Regions from separate parts of the Homo sapiens genome. Here regions 1, 2 and 4 are each linked to region 3. The links are contacts of gene promoters, found by promoter capture Hi-C in blood cells and fetal thymus (Javierre and others, 2016). All regions are on one chromosome and are shown on one strand. The core of a region is centred on a gene start or on the middle of the fragment in contact, and the rest is flanking DNA. Distances in the headings are between cores, read along the strand shown.

Region 1 (3,351 bases), core at 547-3,046, 490 kb after region 3:
CTGTTGCCCAGGCTGGAGTGCAGCGGCCCGATCTCCACTCACGGCAACCTCCGCCTCCTGGGTTCAAGCGATTCTCCTGCCTCAGCCTCCCGTAGTGGGGACTACAGGCATGCACCACCACACCTGTATTTTCAGTAGATACGGGGTTTCACCGTGTTAGGATGGTCTGGATCTCCTAACCTAGTGATCCGCCCGCCTCAGCCTCCCAAAGTGCTGGGATTACAGGTGTGAGCCACCGCACCCAGCTGAAAACTGTTTTTACCTCTTTTCTTTTACTAAGGAATTCCCAAATTGGGTTGTATGTCAGTCAGCTGAAGGAGTTTTTAAAATTACATCCTAGATACACTGAACAAGAATACTGGGGTGAGAAGCTGGGTGCAGTGGCTCACGCCTGTTATCCCAGCACTTTGGGAGGCCAAGGTGTGCAGATCACCTGAGGTCAAGAGTTAGAGACCAGCCTTGCCAACATGGTGAAACCAAAATACAAAAGAATAGCCAGGTGTGGTGGCAGGCACCTGTAATCCCAGCTACTCGGGAGGCTGAGGCAGGAGAATTGCTTGAACCTGGGAGGCAGAGGTTACAGTGAGCCAAGATCACACCACTGCACTCTAGTCTGGTTGACAGAGTGAGACTCCATCTCAAAAAAAAAAAAAGGATACGGAGGTGAGATCCAGGACTTTTTCCCAAAAAGCTACTCAGATCGTTCTTATGTATAGTTAAGTCCAGTAGCCCAGTGAATGGAATCTATTGCCCTAATATCTGATTCTCCTTTAAAAATGTAAGTTGCTCATTCTTCCATGTTAAAGGCACTTACAGTAGAGAAAGCGGTGTCTCCTGTTTCTCACTGCTTTTTCAGGCCATTATTCTCACTACTGAACAAAAACTGCTTTTTTTTTTAATGTGGGTATGACCTTTGGCTACTCCCCTTTCAAATGTTCCCAGCTTTCTTTTCTTTTTTGTTTTTTTGAGACGGAGTCTTGCCTCCCAGGTTCAAGCAATTCTCCTGCCTCAGCCTCCCTAGTAGCTGGGATTACAGGCATGCAGCACCATGCCTGGCTAATTTTGTATTTTTAGTAGAGACGGGGTTTCTCCATGTTGGTTAGGCTGGCCTTAGAACTCCCGACCTCAGGTGATTGGCCCGCCTCAGCCTCCGAAAGTGCTGGGATTACAGGCAGGAGCCATGGTGCCCGGCCTATGTTCCCACCTTTCTACCCACTATCACATTTCCCCACAGGCATCAAAGACTTTGGGTTGGCACTGATTTCAGTTTCTCTCTTTCCAAGCTATTCTGTGTGTCTCATATATAAATGTACATCCCAATGAATGCTCACAAAGTGATCACACCCAGATGAAGAAATATATTATCAGTACCCCAGAACCCCCTCCTATGCCTCCTAAAATTGCTCACTACTCCTACTCTACAAAAATAACCTTCATCCTAACTTAAATTACAGATGGGTTTTGCCTGTTTTGTATTTGTATAAAAGTAGTAACAGAGTATGCTCTTATGCTCTTCTTCTTTGGTCAACATTATTCATGAGATTCATCTATATGGCTGTATATAGAAGTATCTTATTCATTTTCTTTTTAAATATTTTTCTTTTTTTCTTTGAGACAAAGTCTTGCTTTGTCACCCAGGCTGGAGTACAGTGGCACAATCTTGGCTCACCGCAACTTCCACCTCCCAGTTTCAAATGATTCTTGTGCCTCAGCCTCCCGAGTAGCTGGGGTTACAAGCGTGCGCCATTGCACCAAGCTAATTTTTTCTACTTTCAGTAGAAATGAGGTTTCGCCATGTTGGCCAGGCTGGTCTTGAACTCCTGGCCTCAAGTGATCCACATGCCTCAGCCTCCCAAAGTGCTGGGATTAGAGACATGAGCCACTGCCTCATTTTCATTATTATTGTGCAGCATCCATTTATGAATATATCCAATTTATTTCTTTATTCTATTGGAAAACAATTTGGGTTGCTTCTAGCTTTTGGCTATTAAGAATAAAGCTATACAGCCAGGCGCGGTGGTTCACGCCTGTAATCCCAGCACTTTCAGAGGCCGAGGCAGGTGGATTACGAGGTCAGGAGTTCAAGACCAGCCTGGCCACAATGGTGAAACCGTCTCTACTAAAAATACAAAAATTAGCTGGCCGTGGTGGAGGGCACCTGTAATCCCAGCTACTCGGGAGGCTGAGGCAGAATTGCTTGAACCCAGGAGGCAGAGGTTGCAGTGAGCTGAGATCGTGCCACTGCATTCCAGCTTGGGCAACAGAGCGAGATTCAAAAAAACAAAAAAACAAAAAACCAAAAAAACAAAAAAACAACAAAAACCATGCTTCTGAAGTTCACATAGAAAAAAAACCTCATAAAAAGACAGACGGATCGGTGACAGGTTCTTCTCCATTTGTGCCAAGCCATATGGATCTTGCTAAAATGTCACACTTATATACTTGAGTTCATTACAGCATACTGCCTGTATGCATTATCATGACACTCAAGGCCCTATTATAGTCTAGTCTCAAACTACCTTTCCAGAATATTCTACATTTTCACATCCTTCACTTTGTTACAAATTACATACCGATATTTACCATCACAAAATCTTGTAATGATCAGTGCTGGATTTTCATTTAAAAATTATGCTCATTCATTCTTCTAACATCTGTGGTCCAGGTGCAATAGCTCACGCCTATAATCCCAACACTTTGGGAGGCTGAGGCAGGAGGACTAATTGAGGCCAGGAGTTGGAGACCAGCCAGGGCAAGAGAGCAAGACTCCGTCTCTATAAAAAATTAGTTGGGCGTGGTAGCATCTGCAGACGTCTTCTTATGAGAACTGCTTTTAGTTTATTCAGTTATTTGAAGTTAAATGAAAGACAATTTATGTTAAAAAAAATTTGTGCTAAAAAGGTTTTAAGTATCATTCTAATCCAGATTATTGGCTCATTGAATCCAGTGAGTAGGAAAAATCTAGTTTGTATTTGCTGGGGGTGTGTGTGTGTGTGTGTGTGTGTGTGTGTGTGTGTGCACGCGTGTGTTTTAAGAGACAGGGTCTTGCTCTGTCACCCAGGCTGGAGTACGGTGGCAGAATCATGGCTCACTGTACCCTCGAACTCCTAGGCTCAAGTGATCCTACGGCCACAGTCTCCCAAGTAGCCAGGACTACAGCCAGTTGAGTCAATAAATATTTCTTGTTTCAAGCTATCTCCTTATTTAATATGGTCTATAAAATAAGATTATTAAGTAAACATTTAACTTTATACCTAGCTTTTATATAAGCCCAATCATCCCCTTTTTAACGCATAACTTAACATCGTAATTCTTTAGATCACATAACTCTTTAGACAATTGTGTAGTTCT
Region 2 (3,177 bases), core at 327-2,826, 440 kb after region 3:
TAAAATAAATCCAAACAAGAGTGTAATATTGGTTAGGGAAACAAACTTCAGGTCACCAACTGAAGTCATTACAAACTCCTTGTACATTCACTGTGAGTTTCAAAGGGAGTCAGTCCCTAATTTACAGGTTTCCTTTGTTCACTTTCTAGATGTGTACTTTTGAGGGACATGAGGTTAGGCAACATTACAGCAACACACACTGGGGCTATTAATCCCATTTAGGTCTGTACTAAAGAGGATGGGTAGAAACACATATGTATATACCTTTTCTTTACCTAGAAGTGCCATCCATTGTCCTTGAATTATTATGATTAAAGTTACTGTTGCATTTAGGAGGCTCCTTGAAAGTAACACCTTTTCCAAGGACAATGGCAACAATGTCAATGTCAACACTGAGTCTAATTTTGACCACATTTATAGTGGTATAGTGTCAATACTGCATTTTCATGACAACCACACTCCACTGTTGAAACACTGTGCCAGTGAGAAGTGCAACATCCAGTGGGCAGATGAAAATGATGCATGGCCAAGTTCAGTGTTTACAGATAAAACTGCTGTGGTTCAAGTGCTTCCTTCCCCATCAAATCCTTGATAAGGCTTTGTGGGAAAATGATCTAAATTATTGTTTTAATTTTTAAACCTAATTTATTCACTCAGTGAACATTCTTACCTAAGCAAGGCTATAAAAGGGAATACTACAGTTTTGTCCACACTTTAATTTGAGACCATTTTTCTTTGAATCGTAAGTTAGCAAAAGAAATTTTTTTCACCTTTGAAAATCACGTGATGTTAAAGGACAAATGCCCACTCTTCTATTCTGATCTGCAAATAGCTTAAATGTCTCTTGCAAAACAAAGTAAGATACCACCAGTATTACAACACAATGATTTTCCAGACAAATGGTATGGTGTTGAAAAATAACTGTTACTTCTTAAAGCAGCATTTTATCTTCTATTTTGAAGACTATTTATTGTAATAATTAGAAAACATGAAATAGGGAACTCCAGACTGACACAGCAGTTGTTTTTGAAAAGGAAATAAACTTTGATGAATTAGATAATCCAGATACATCATTGTAAACTCTTACTCTAGGTGCTCTTTGGTGAGAGACAGGCTTTGTTCTCTTGTTCATAACATTTCTCTGCAAAGAATTCTCTATGGAGTGAAGCGAATGAAGTGAATAATTTCTTACCAAATAAATTTATCAATTTACAAATCTGCTCTACATCTCACTTTTGAGTTCAGTTGTAGTCATGAGTGATCCTTCATATTTTATTAAAAGTGTTCATTCAGGTAAGGTGTATGTTGAAATTTTGCCAATTATCTTAATAAAACCTGGCAATTTAAAAACCACTAGTCATTTGTCTTTTTATTTAAAGGAAAGGTAAGTTATTTACTGTTTAAATTTGTGCAGATTTCTTCAGAACTGGAAAATAAAATCCTGAGATGGACGTTAAGTTTGGAAGCTTGGAACATTTAAAAAGAAGATTTGCTAAATGCTGCTGTAACATTATTTTACCCCAGAAGAGAGGTATTTAGCCTTATACATGTTCTCTTCATTAGCTGAACTGCGAGGAGAGGGAGTGGTGTTATAATCCTAAAAGAAAAGAGGAACCCGACCTGCCAAGGACTAAGCGGTGGTCATCAAATCTCCCAACTACTTCATTCTTAGAACTCTGCATCTAACCAAGCTTTCCCCTTTCGCTTAGCCTCTTTGAGTTTCAAGCTAGAAGAAAGTAAGGAAATCATCAGATGAGCTGTGGTGGAAAGCCTCCCAAGGACTGCTGATAAGTGAGTAAAAGGAGACAGAGACAAAAAGGACAATGTGGGGGAGGGAAGTCACTTACGACACCTGCATCTGAAGGGAGGGAACTGACCTTCCAAACGAGTCAACCTTGTCAATACACTGCACTGTTCTCCTGCCTACCAGTAAAGAAGGCCTTTACAATTAATTTTACATAGTTTCAAAAATCTTCAACTCCTAATTCCCTAAATTCATTCAGTCCTTGGCATGACTTTATATAGAACCAAATGAACAATTGAGAAAAAAAAGGTGAAGTTTTGAAAGAAGGACATATTTGAAGGGGTTTACTGAAGCAGGGAATGACAGAAAAGGAACATTTTGATTAGTAAGTGTTACACTTGAAAAAATTCCCTAAAATATAGTATTACTTAGATCAAAAGGAACACCTCTTTCTGAAGGAGCAGCACACAGCAAGACAGAAGGGAACCACTAGGTACAGTAAAATCATTTGAACATCATAGAAATTTACCCAAGTTACCAAATTATCAGAAACAACTGTCTGTACTGACAAGCTGCATAACTGAGCATTCCCCCCCACACCCGCCCCCTGTTGCTGTCAGTGTGCATCATTTCCTTTCCTTCTTTTGAGATGGAGTTTCATTCTGTCACCCAGGCCGGAGTGCAGTGACGTGATCTTGGCTCACCACAACCTCTGCCTCCCAGGTTCAAGCGATTTTCCTGCCTCAATCTCCCAAGTAGCTGGGATTACAGGCGCCCGCCACCACACCCAGCTCATTTTATTATTATTAGTGGAGGTGGGGTTTCACCATGTTGGCCAGGCTGGTCTCGAACTCCTGACCTCAGATGATCCACCCTCCCACCTCGGCCTCCCTAAGTGCATCATTTTCTTTTTGATTGCAAGTTTCCATCTGTCTTTTTTTTTTTTTTTTTTCTTTTTTGAGACAAGAGTCCTGCTGTGTCACCCTGGCTGGAGTGCAGTGGTGCAATCTCGGCTCACTGCAACCTCTGCCTCCCAGGTTCAAGCAATTCTTGTGCCTCAGCCTCCCAGGATGCTGGGATTACAGGCGTCGGCCACCACGCCTGGCTTTTGTGTTTTTAGTAGAGACGGGGTTTTGCCATGTTGGCCAGACTGGTCTTGAACACCTGACCTCAAGTGATCTGCCTGCCTTGGCCTCCCCAAGTGCTGGGATTTACAGGTGTGAGACACCACGCCCAGCCCCATCTGTCATCTTAACAGCAATTAGTAAAGAACACTTTTTCTATTGTGCTTTAGGGAACCTCCTTTTGCTTGGCCTAGGAATAACCTTATGGAAGATCCCTTACTTACATTTAAAACAAGTCACATTCTTTTCTGAGAGCCCCAACTGTTGAATATGTTTAGTAAGAAGCGCTCTTCCCTGGGCAGTTGGTTG
Region 3 (3,305 bases), core at 148-2,647:
GGTAAGGACCGAGGAGGCAAGGGCCTAGGGGTCAGTTCCAGTTCTGCATGGATGGAGGGCTTTTGCGAGAGTTCTGGATACCTGGGTGTAGGTCCTTGGGACATGTAAGTAATTTCTGGGGGTTTTTGGGTTTGCTGTTTATAGATGGGCTCTGGAGTAACAAACATGGATGACTTGTGGGAGCCCTCAGACACTGATGGAACTGTCACATGGTGAGTTGGCTCTACTGACTGTACCCCTGGGGAGATGGTGACCCTGCGGCCAACCTCGCTGTTTCCTCGGATTGGGGTCCTCACGTTGGACTCCACCTGTGATGATACTAAGACCTTTGCGGAGGGCTTGGTTTCAGGATAGGCAGAATACTTATGAAGAGACTCAGGGTCTACCCGTGCAGAAACTCGGTGTACACCATCAGAATCTTTAAGGACAGAGAGTTTGAGCAATGAGTCCAAGTTCATATTCCTATACAAGGCCTTGGGTTTTGAAGGAATTGGACCGTAAGGACCTGTTTCTGATTCTTCTACAGGGACCCTTCTCTGGGCTGTCTGATAGTCTGCAGAGACACAGCTGCTTCCGTGCTCTAGGAGAGAGGGACTCCTTGGAGATCTGATCTCACTAGTAGTCGTAATTCTTTGGATGGGCTCAGTTTGTACTGCTTCATCCTTTGGGTAAGACAAAATCCTACGGGGAACTCTGACTCCTTGGGGGTTCTGGACCTTGGATGGTGGGTCATCTTCTAAGATTTGTGATTGTAAGTTATTCTTCTGGTCTTGAAAACTCAACTGATGAGTAGATTTGGCATCTGGGATTGATGAAGCATGATGGCCGACCTCGCGCCCTGACTTGCTCTCACTGCCTCTTCGTGCTGCTTCCTCTCTGGGTGGACTAACTTTCCATTGTCTGCTTGAAGCATGGGAAGCCAGTGTCTGAGTCTTCTGGCTCTTTAGATGGGGAGAGGAATGGCGGGATGATTCTGTTCTTGGTCCAGTCTCGGGTCCCCGAGGAGTGGGTACTGCATAGTGTCCAGGTCCTGACTGGAGGGAGACAGATCGAGGGTAGTCTGATGCTGAATGGGGAGTGGTGGGATGTGCAGCTTCTGATCTTCGGTGGGAAGGGTTCAGGGAGACTGCAGCACTTCGATGGCTTGAGGCAAGAACGTACCCATGTCCCTGCTGAGGGGATGTGTTAGTAGTAACCTCAGACCCTCTCTGTGCTGAAACCGCTACCTTGGCCCCAGGTTTATTTGTCTTGACCATCTGATAGATTGTGCCCTTCTGAGTAGATCCCGTATTTTACTGGCTGGCTTGTATTCAGGATCCTAATGATGCCTGAATATTTACCCTGTTTTAAAGCTGCTGTTTCTTGGGCTCCCACAAAAGTGGCTGTTGTTCTAAGAGTGTCTCAAATAATCCCCTTAGCTACCTCTCTGTCTGGTGATGTCATAAAGGAAGGAGCTTCCTTCCTATTAAACATCCTAGTGTACAGCCACAATTCTTCACAGAATCCCAAAGAAGTACCTGAAAGGAATCTGTGGATTTGTCTTTGGAGTTATATCACCAAGCCTTTGGCAAGTTTTTAACAAAACTGGGATTTCCTTGTACATAGAGAAGGCTCCAGACCCTCCTTTACTCTCCCGAGATTCTAGAAATTCTCAGGACTCATCCAGAGAAGGAATCAGCCAGAAGATCCTATGAAGACAAGATCAAACCAAACACGCTGTGTTCGCCCCAGTTTTAATAAGGTACGAAGTACAAAGTTGCCCCAATTTTGTTTGAAACTGTACTGTATACAAGTTAAAAAAAAAAAAAAAAAGAGAGCTTCAGCTTTTTCCAGGTCTCATGGATTGTTTCATTGCTCCTGGGGTAAAAATCCAGGTTGCTCAAATAATAAAATTCTCACATTCTTGCTCCAGGAGAGTTTAGTGTTTTATTAATAAAAGGGATTTGCCATGTGCGGTGGCTCACGCCTGTAATCCCAGCACTTTGGGAGACCGAGGCGGGTGGATTGCCTGAGGTCAGGAGTTTGAGGCCAGCATGGCCAGCATGATAAAACCCCGTCTTTACTAAAAATACAAAAAAATTAGCCAGGCATAGTGGCAGGCACCTATAATCCCAGCTACTCAGGAGGCTGAGGCAGGAGAATCGCTTGAACCCGGGAGTTGGAGGTTGCAGTGAGCTGAGATTGTGCCACTTTACTCCAGCCTGGGTGACAAGAGCAAAACTCCATCTCAAAAAATATATATAAATAAAAACAAAATAAAAGGGATTTGGGCTGGGTGCAGTGGCTCACACCTGTAATCCCAGCACTTTGGGAGGCTGAGGCGGGTGGATCACCTGAGGTCAGGAGTTTGAGACCAGCCTGGCCAACATGGTGAAACCCCATCTCTACTAAAAATACAAATATTAGCCAGGCGTGGTGGTGCGTGCCTGTAATCCCAGCTACCCGTGAGGCTGAGGCACGAGAATCGCTGGAACCTGGGAGGCGGAGGCTGCAGTGAGCTGAGATCGTGCCACTGCACTCCAGGCTGGGTGACAGAGCAAGACTCCATCTCAAAAAAAAAAAAAAAAAAGAAAGAAAGAAAGAAAGAAGGAATTTGGAGTTAATCATTGGTTTCCATCATAAATGACTACAGGTGTACCTAGGAGAAATTACCTGCCTTCCCTGGGACTTGGTTTCTTCACCTGGAAACCACTGCCTGGTACATGGGTGTCACACAACAAATGTTAATGTCCTTTCTCATGATCCTGTCAGCTATCCAATCAGCCGGACTCCGGTTCTCTCTTGAAAAGTGACTTTCCAATTTGGATGACCATTTTGGAGGAGACTCTGTCACCTTTCTCTCCCTTTCACATGCTCTTTCTCTCATTCTCTCTTTTAGACATAGACTCTACCATATCCAAAATTCTATTATGAACTCTGAAGGGTCATTGAGATTATAGGATGGTCAGCTTCATTTTTCTTTTTTTTTTTTTATTTGAGATGGAGTTTCAAATAAACTGTGCCCAGGCTGTTGCCCAGGCTGCAGTGCAGTGGCGTGATCTTGGCTCACTGCAACCTCTGCCTCCCGGGTTCAAGTGATTCTCCTGCCTCAGCCTCCCGAGTAGCTGGGATTACAGGCGCATACCACCATGCCTAGCTGATTTTCTTTTTTTTAGTAGAGATGGGGTTTCACCATGTTAGTTAGGCTCGTGTCAAACTCCTGACCTCAGATAATCTACCCACCTCGGCTTCCTAAAGTGCTGGGATTACAGGTGTGAGCCACCGTGCCCAGCCAGTTTTAAGTATTTCTAAACCCTTTCTATTCC
Region 4 (3,141 bases), core at 178-2,677, 400 kb after region 3:
TACCCAGCTATTTTGTTGTTGTTTGTTTTGAGACAGGGTCTTGTTAAGTTGCCCAGGCTGATCTCAAACTCCTGGCCCCAACCTTACCCCCTTGCAAAGTACCAAAATTACAGACATAAGCCACTATGCCTGGCAGATTTGCAAATATTTTCTACCAGTCTATGGGTTGTCTTTTCACTTTACTGATTTGTGATACAAAAGTTTTAAATTTTGATGTAGTCCAATTTAATATTTTTTTTCTTTTCTGCTTGTGCTTTTGGTGTCAGAGCTAAGAAAACCATTGCCTAATCCAAGGTCATGAAGATTTACTCTTTTAGGAGTTTTCTTTTAGGAGTTTTATGAGTTTTAGCTTTACATTTAGGTCTGTGATGCATTTGGCATTAATTTTTGTATATGGTGTAAGGAAGGGGTCCAACTTGATTATTTTGCATGTGGATATCCAATTTTTCCAGCACCATTTGACCATTTTGTTAAACAGAAAGTTATTTTCCTTTTTCCTGTTTTTTTTTTTTTTTTTTTTTTTTTTTTAGACAGTCTTGCTCTGTTGCCCAGGCTTGAGTGTGATCTGCCCACCTCGGTCTCCCAAAGTGTTGGGATTACAAGTGTGAGCCACACTCCTGGCCTTTTTTTTTTTTTTTTTTTTTTTGAGACAGTCTTGCTTTATCACCCAGGCTGGAGTGCAGTGACGTGATCTCAGCTCACTGCAACCTCTGCCTCTTGGGTTCAGGCGATTCTCATGCCTCAGCCACCCAAGTAGCTGGGATTATAGGCGTGCACCACCACACCCAGCTAGTTTTTGTATTTTTGGTAGAGACAGGGTTTCACCATGTTAGCCAGGCTGGTCTTGAATTCCTGGTCTCAGGTGATCCACCCACCTTGGCCTCCCAAGGGGCTGGGATTACGGGTACGAGACACTGCACCTGGCCTTTTTTTTTTTTTTTTCACTTATTTGACCTCTCAGCAATTGACAGAGTTCACTGCTCCCTCCTTCAAATACTCTCTACTATCTCGGTTCTCCTTTTACAGATTTTGCCATTTCTCTTTAGTCTTCATAGGTCCCTTGTCTTCTACTAAGCTTCTAAATATTGGGTTTTCAGTTATTGTCACTGTATTGCAAATTACCACAAAACTTAGTGGCATAAAACAATTATTTATTATGCTCACAATGTCTTTCAGTCAGAAATTAAAACTGGGTAAAGCAAGGTCACCTTATCTCTGTTCCAACTGGGGTCTCTGTTGGAAGACTCAGGCTGGGGGACTGGAATCATCTGAAGGCTTGTGAACTTACATGTCAAGCAATTGATAATGGCTACTGCCTGGGAGACCTCAGGCTACATCCACATGAGCCTGTTCATGTGGTTTCTCCACATGGCTAGTTTGGGCTTCCTCATGGCTTGATGGCTTGGCTGAGTATGAAGAGCAAGTATCCAGAGGGAGACAGAGGAAGAAAGAAGAGGAAGCCGGGGGAAGCCACGTGGCCTTTTATGAACAAACTTCAAAAGTCACACAGTATCACTTTTGCTACATTTTTTTCATCCGAGTAGTCACCACACCTCACCCATGTTTAGATTAGGAAGGGAAACAGACTCTATTTTTTTATGGGGAATGGCAAAGTTCTAAAATAGCATGCGGGACCAGGAATGCTGTTGCGGCCTTTTTAAAAATAATCTGCCACAGTCTTTTCTGGCCACACAATTCACATCCTTCCCATGTGCTAAATGCACTCACCCAACATCCCCTAAGATTTCCCAAAGTCTAATCCCATTATGGTATTAGGCTGAAGCTTGAGGTCCAAGATTTCATTGAGGCCAAGACCATGGCAGATAAGATTTCTTATCTGGCAAGTAAGGTTTCTTCCTTTAAAAAAAAATTCTCCAATGAGAGTTTAATTTTTATGTTTATCAAAGTGTATACTATATTAGATCATTTGTGTACCAGTAGTTACACTGATAAGGCAATGAAAAAGAAAATGTTTAACGCTGGAGCCTTATGGTCACAGAAAGTTTTTAAAAATTTAATTTCAATTTTCATACATATTTTTACTGCAGAGACATATTATATACTGCTTTGGCTGAGTCCCATAGGTTTTGGTATGTTGTGTTTCTGTTTTCATTTGTTTCAAGGAATTAGTCAATTTCCTTCTTAATTTCTTTCTTCACCCATTGGTTGTTTAGGAGCATGTTGTGTAATTTCCATGTATTTGTGTAATTTTGAATGTTTCACTTGTTATTGGTTTCTAGTTTTATTCCATAGTCAGATAAGATACTTGATATGACTTCAATTAAAAAAATTTTTTTAGCCTTGTTCTGTGTCCTAACATGTAGTCAATTCTGGAGAATGTTCCATTTGCTAATAAAAAGAATGCATATTCTGCAGCTGTTGGGTGAAATGTTCTGTAAATGTCTGTTAGAGCTATGCTATGGTTTATCTGATGTTTCCTTGTTGATTTTCTGCCTAGATGATTTCTGCAATGCTGAGTTGGGTGTTGAAGTCCCCAGCTGTTATTGTATTGGCATCTGTCTCTTCCTTTAGATCTAATAGTATTTTCTTTATGAATCTGGGTGTGCTGGTCTTAGGTGCATGTATATTTACAATTGTTATAGCTTCTTGAATTGTTTCCTTAATTACTATATAATGTCCTTCTTTGTCTCTTTTTATAGCTTTCGACTTAAAGTCTGTTTTAGCTGATATAAATATAGCTTTTCCTGCTTGCTTTTGGTTTCCATTTGCGTGGAATATCTCTTTCCATCCCTTCACTTTCAGTCTGTGTATATCCTTATAGATGAGGTGAGTTTCTTGTAGACAGCATATAGTTGGGTCTTGTTTTTGTTTTTGTTTGTTTGCTTTGTTGTTGTTGTTTAAATTCATTCAGCCAGTTTCTTTTAATTGGGAATTTTAACCATTTTACATTCAAGATTATTATTAATAGATGAGGACTTACTCCAGACATTTATTGACTGTTTTCTGAGTATTTTGTGTAACCTTTGTTCCTTCCCCTCCTATTATTTATTTTTGTGGTTGGGTTGTTTTCTGTAGTGATAAGATTATTTATTCCTTTCTCTTTCTTCTTTCTCTGTTGGCTCTCCTGGTGAATTTTATAATTTCACATATCTTCATGAGGGCAGTTATCATCTTTTTATT

Evidence for each region. Contacts are between HindIII fragments. The CHiCAGO score rates a contact against its expected background, and 5 or more counts as called.
Region 1: a contact is called between a fragment that was not itself captured here and the fragment with the promoter of SEPTIN4 in region 3, in 2 of 17 cell types (total CD4 T cells and total CD8 T cells). The highest score is 5.9, in total CD4 T cells.
Region 2: a fragment that was not itself captured here is called in contact with the fragment with the promoter of SEPTIN4 in region 3 in 7 of 17 cell types (naive CD4 T cells, total CD4 T cells, naive CD8 T cells and 4 more); the score reaches 7.8 in naive CD4 T cells.
Region 4: a fragment that was not itself captured here is called in contact with the fragment with the promoter of SEPTIN4 in region 3 in 1 of 17 cell types (endothelial precursors); the score reaches 5.2 in endothelial precursors.

The regions. Positions count from the first base shown.
Region 1 is chr17:59,033,467-59,036,817 of GRCh38, forward strand. All of the region lies in intron 17 of TRIM37 (tripartite motif containing 37), which reads right to left. Among named protein-coding and RNA genes, the nearest start is that of TRIM37, 72 kb to the right of the region's middle. The HindIII fragment of the contact is 4,005 bases long and covers 1-3,351 here.
Region 2 is chr17:58,983,827-58,987,003 of GRCh38, forward strand. PPM1E (protein phosphatase, Mg2+/Mn2+ dependent 1E) reads left to right here. Exons shown (of 7, transcript NM_014906.5): 7 at 1-1,353. It also overlaps a transcript of TRIM37 not described here. Among named protein-coding and RNA genes, the nearest start is that of TRIM37, 120 kb to the right of the region's middle. The HindIII fragment of the contact is 225 bases long and covers 1,465-1,689 here.
Region 3 is chr17:58,542,931-58,546,235 of GRCh38, forward strand. SEPTIN4 (septin 4) reads right to left here and starts at 1,398. Exons shown (of 14, transcript NM_001368771.2): 1 at 1-1,398. The coding sequence starts at 1,256. It overlaps SEPTIN4-AS1 (SEPTIN4 antisense RNA 1), which reads left to right. Exons shown (of 5, transcript NR_110810.1): 3 at 527-668; 4 at 1,606-1,741. The HindIII fragment of the contact is 11,159 bases long and covers 1-3,305 here.
Region 4 is chr17:58,946,611-58,949,751 of GRCh38, forward strand. The region is part of intron 1 of PPM1E (protein phosphatase, Mg2+/Mn2+ dependent 1E); the gene reads left to right. Among named protein-coding and RNA genes, the nearest start is that of TRIM37, 160 kb to the right of the region's middle. The HindIII fragment of the contact is 708 bases long and covers 1,074-1,781 here.